2 separate regions of the Homo sapiens genome follow, and region 1 is linked to region 2. Evidence: promoter capture Hi-C in 16 types of primary human blood cells and fetal thymus (Javierre and others, 2016). All regions are on one chromosome and are shown on one strand. Each heading gives the region's core, a stretch centred on a gene start or on the middle of the fragment in contact. The rest is flanking DNA. Distances are from core to core; before and after follow the strand shown. Region 1 has its middle 26 kb from the start of LINC02746. Region 2 holds the start of SLC36A4 (solute carrier family 36 member 4).

Region 1 (2,700 bases), core at 192-2,691, 260 kb before region 2:
GCCCAAGGACACCCAGTTAGTGAGAGTCAAGCCTGTCTGACTTGGGTTGGTGTTCTCACCCACTCACAGCAGCTGCTCCAGGCACTAGTGAGATGTGCCACTTACTGAAGCCTGCACACCTTATGTGTGTTTAGTTATCACAATAACCCACAGCGTCATTATGACACCTCTTTCATGAATAAGGCTGTGGAAGCTCACAAAAGTTACTCCATTTGCCCAAGACCAACAGAGCCACTCTGGCAAAGCCAAGATTAACTGGCTTCCAGATCTGCTCTCTTCCTATGAAAATAAGGTAACACATGGAAAATGCTTGGTAACTTGTAAAACTCTGTATTGACAATGGTATTACCATTCTCAGTGGTCCTTACTCTCTCTAGAGCTCACAACTTTGTGTTGCTTTTACAGATAAGAAAATTGAGTTCCAGGGCAGTAAGTTAATTTGCTAGCATTCCACAGACAGAGTTGGGTTTGGAACCAGGTCTGTGCTTCTCAAAATGGAGGCTCTTAGGCCCAGGGGTAATGGATAAGGTGTTCTGCATAAAGGTGGTGTATCCTTCTACAGAATTTATTTTATTCAGATATTTGGGTAAAAATATCATTTTTATGTTAAGCATAGTGATATATTAGTGCCTCAGAATGCAACACTCATATTGGTTTTTATAGTAAAATATGAGACTTCAATTCTGCTTTTCCTCCTGCAGCATAGGACTATCTCCTCAGGTCCCTGAGATATGGATTAGCCCCTTTGGTCAGGAGGGGTACTTGGGCGGATGTTGGAGAAGCTTCTGCTACACTGGGCAGCCTCTCGCTGTGCCATGTGCCTCTGCTCCCCTCACCCACAGAGGATGCTTCTAGATGAATCCTGCCTGAACTCAGGGAGGCAGAAAAGACAGTCTCATAAGAAGTCTGTGAGTCCCTGAGAGTACTTTGCTTTTTAACCAAAAGATATAATTACTTCTCTTTACCTGATTCATTCGCCAGTTGATGAAATTGATGTATTAAAATATGTTCGCTCACTAGGTTTCTAACTTTCCCAAAATGCTTCCAGACAGACAGCTTTGTGCCCACAGCTGTGAGTGTCTTGACATTTATCTCTAGCTGGGACGCTGGGATCTAGTCTAGAGTCTGTTGTGTCTTCTTCTGTGACCTCAGGCCGGGCACATTACCTCAGTGGGCTTCAGTAACCTCACTTACAGGGGACAGGAGTTGGAGAATCACTAAGATTTCTTTCCATTTGGGCAGGTTTTGGGACCCAGGGGTTAAGTAAAGACAAGAACATGAGGTTCAGTAGCTGGGAATGTAAGTTCCCTGAGAGCAAGGCCTTTTTTGTTCATTGCCTGAAACAATGCAGGACATACAGTAGACAGTGAGTTACTATTTGTTAAATGAAATGAATAAATCTCCTCAACTTCTTGCCTGGCAGAATCAGTAAATACAAAGGAGGGGACATCCAGACAGATGACCTGAACAGAGTGGGCAGCTGGCTCACCTTTGCTCCACTCCACTCAATGCTAGCCCAGAGCCTGGCATAGGTGGCTGCTCATGGATTGAGCTTTTAAACAGCACTGAGGGTGTTCGGCAGGCAGGAGTAGGGGTGGTCTCAGTGGATTGTGGTCATTAACAGTCCTTAAGCTCCAAGAGGCCAAGGGCAAGATGAGGGAACAACATGACACTTATAGCTTCTGGCTGTGTTTGTACTGGTGGAGGTGACTATTGCTACCTGACTTAGATGTGAATAAAACTGCGGAGGATAAGGGATGAGAGGTGGAAGTGTTTTCTTATTTGTGTGTGTTGTTTTAGCCCCCTAGAGACATTGTTTTGCATTTGTAGTGTAAGCAAAGGCTCCGGAGAGCTGGTGAAAGATGCTTCCTTCCCTTCTCTCCTACCCCGACATCACTGAATGTATTTTCCCTTCTCTACCACTGGGAGTCGCAAGTGCCCACAATAATGCTCCGTTTCTTTTTAATAAAACAAACGGGAAGTATCTTTTTTGTGAAGATTTGTCCTTCACTGATGCACTGCCCTTTGGTTGATGAATATTCAGAAAAGGGGTAAGGGCAGGGGATATTGTGAAGGGTAGAACAGAGGAATAATACGGGGCAAAGCTTGGAGTCTGTTTCCAAAGAGCAAAAGAACGGATCTCCTCCCCAGGTAAGCTGTCACCTCCCAACTGTGGTGGGCATAAGTACATGGTAAAGCAAGTGTGGGGTGGGAGAACGGGATGCCCGGTGTCAACCACATCCCCTACATCTCCAGGTTAAATAGTCTCCCAAGGTGACGCCATCAGGCAGTCAAAGTCAAAAACCATGAGTTTAGGATGAGGCCATATTTTAAAGGTCCATCACTTTAAAGAAAAACATTGAGTTAGAAAAGATTTAAGAAGCCCATGTACATGGCCAAAACAGCGAGTGGCTGAAGCTTGGAAAACGTTATTTTACTGGACCTTTCTTCTCCACTGGGCTGCAAACCTCAGTGTTCATAAGCTTTGCATTCCCAATGCCTGGTGTAGCTCCCGGGCCACTGTAGACTTACAGTAAGCCCTGGAAGGAAGAAGAGAGAATGAGGAAGGAAGGGAAGAGGTAAGGAAGGAAAGAATGGAAGGTGTGCGTAGTAAGAAGGTAAATGTGGCAGATGGCCCCAATGACTCCTGCCCTCTGGTGTTCATGCCTTTGCGTGATCCCTCCGCCGGGAGGTATGGGC
Region 2 (2,700 bases), core at 189-2,688:
AGACGGGGTTTCACCGTGTTAGCCAGGATGGTCTCCATCTCCTGACCTTGTGATGATCCGGCCGCCTCAGCCTCCCAAAGTGCTGGGATTACAGGCGTGAGCCACCGCGCCAGGCCGATATGTACATTTTTAAGGCTAAATATATTATCCCTTTCCTGCCAGCAATGCATGAGAATACCCATTTCTCCATATCCTCACTAAGACAGGTTATTAATGAATGAAACCTGAGTTCACATTTGGGTTCTGCCATTAATAAGCTTAAAATTACTGTATCTATAAAATGGAAATCATGATAGCACCTATCTCAGTTGCTGTGAGGATTAAAGACAATGCATAGGTAAAGCACTTAGCACAGTGTTTGCACACAGTAAGCACGCAATAAAATGTTAAGTTTATTGTTTCTACCATTATTACGGCCTGAAAACAATTCCATTGCAAAGTGCCCTGCAGGCTATTAGAGGAATAACAACAACCTATCAGTTACTTATAATACGGTATTTTTTAAAGTTCAACGGTTTTCTTGAAGATTCCATTTAGATTTAATTTTTTAATTACATTTAATCAGCATCGAATGAAAAATACTCCCAAGTACAGTACGTATAACTGGGAGAGCGATCATTTTACCACCCTGATCCTTACTTTTTTATTTTGGACAGCGGGAAACCGTAAACAAACACGCCCTGTCGCCAAGAAACAAGATGGGAGGAAAGCAGCAAAAAACAAACAAACTTTGCCAAGTGAGCAAGCTACAGGTATCTCCTGTTCATTCTGGTCAGCACGACCTGTTCGAAACTCTGGGATAACAAGGAGTAAAATGAGGATTCATCTGGAGATTCCGAATGGGGCTGCAGCATTTGAAAAGCAGAACAATGATAACTTCCTTAAAGCATCATTGGGAAAAAAACCGTGAGTCACGGCGCAGGCTCTTGCGTCTTTGACGTGTACCCACAGGGCCCCGCCCCACTCAACACACACACTCACCCACACGCGCGCGCGCAAACACACACACACATATTTTAACGCCCTATTCAGGCCTGGGCTTCGTCTGACCAAGTTCTCGGGGTCAGATAACCGGTTCCTTTGCGGATGCTGACCACGGGGTCAGTTAGCAATCGGGCCTCAACTCAGGCCAAGCGCGGGGCCCCTGGAGGTGTGGGCGCACCCGACTCCCGCACAGACCCCCGCCCACGTCAGCCCCGGCTCCCTGCCCACGCACAACACCGACCTAGCTCCTCGCGCCTCGCCGCCCCGGCAGCCGCCGGCGTCGCCGCCGCTTCCATCTCTCGCGGGTCTCCAGGACGCCGCCGCCCGAGTGCTCACTCTCCCGCCGCTGCGTGGCCGGCGTCAGGCCCAGGCCTACCTCCCCTGCCCGGAGGGACCCGCGCCTGGTGCCCGCCTCCCTGCCCCGGCGCTCCCCAACCGCGCGGCGAGGAGCATGCGCAGTGGGACAGCCCGGCTCGGCGGGCACCGCCGGCGAGGGGCGGGAGGGGCCGAAGACCCGAGGACTGCTGCGAGGCCGGGTTGGGTAACCCGAGAGGAGGGTTGGGTAACCTGAGATCAGCGAGGGTGGGACCTTAGAGCTAGCCGAGACCCGGGCCCATAGCTCCCTGGGGGTTTTAAAGATGACGGCGAACTTAAATTTGGGGCGCCTGTCCGTATGCAAGGCGTTAGCGTTCTGTAAGTCACCTTGGAGAATGCGAAGAAGGACGGGATTTGTCCCCTACCCATGCTGAGGTTCTGACTACTCTGGTTATTCGTCTCCCTGTTTCTATAGTTAGAGTTACAGGAGACACTTAAATAGAATTTAATTAAGTCATATACAATTTCACTTTCAGGATATTTCAATGTCCTTCCAGATATTTGACGTTGACCGTGGTGCTGAAAGAAAATTAAGGTAAAGACTAAGTGTACTGATGTAGTTTCAAGTACTCCTAAGCACCATACATACATTATCTTTAATTCTGACTACAATTTGTGAGATAATTCTAATATTTACATTAACGCTAAAGATGAAGGGATTAAGGCACGGAGGTAAGTAACGTGTCTGGGGACAGGAAGCTTGTACATGGCAGAAGTAGAATCCTTCTGCCTTCAGAGCTGGAGCTCTCGAAAAATATGCAAAGCTGGCCTCCCAGATGGGTACCAATGAATATTCGATGAATCAATGGATGAAGCAAGCTTTTGGTTTAAAAGGAAAATATTTATTTTAATTTTAAAATCGCTTTCTTTTTTTTTTCACTTCATAGTTCTTGGAAGTCAGTACACCAGACAATCCTTTTTATTTGTGTCCGTTTCATTCAGTGGGGTTGCTTTAGGAAAGGGTTTTTTTGGGGGGGAGTGGGTCTGATTAACAGTCACTGATGTAACTATATGGCAATGGTGTTAAATATTTAAAATTCTGAGATTAAAAAGGTACGCAGTTACATACTATCTACATCTTTCCTCCTGTTGCATCCTCTGTAGGCTTTCACTAGATAACTAGTGATAATGACAGTTTGCCAACCCCCTTTCTTTTCCTTTAAGTGAACCCAATTTGTTCACATACATACACATGCAAATCCCAAAAGAAGGTTTTATTTGAAGTGTTCCTGACAAATAAAGGGGTAAAGGAGATTTTTTTTAAAAAAGAAGAAGAAGAAGAAATCTATTCTGGAACATAGCTAGAGCAATGTTCCCTAACCTGTGTTGGGGTGGATCACC

Evidence for each region. The method cuts DNA at HindIII sites, captures the fragments that hold promoters and counts their contacts. A CHiCAGO score of 5 or more calls a contact.
Region 1: a fragment that was not itself captured here is called in contact with the fragment with the promoter of SLC36A4 in region 2 in 2 of 17 cell types (M0 macrophages and M1 macrophages); the score reaches 7.2 in M0 macrophages.

The regions. Positions count from the first base shown.
Region 1 is chr11:92,940,241-92,942,940 of GRCh38, forward strand. No RefSeq gene overlaps it. Among named protein-coding and RNA genes, the nearest start is that of LINC02746, 26 kb to the left of the region's middle. The HindIII fragment of the contact is 1,323 bases long and covers 781-2,103 here.
Region 2 is chr11:93,196,553-93,199,252 of GRCh38, forward strand. It overlaps SLC36A4 (solute carrier family 36 member 4), which reads right to left and starts at 1,439. Exons shown (of 11, transcript NM_152313.4): 1 at 1,226-1,439. The coding sequence starts at 1,280. RefSeq lists a silencer at 1,201-1,580. The HindIII fragment of the contact is 1,801 bases long and covers 256-2,056 here.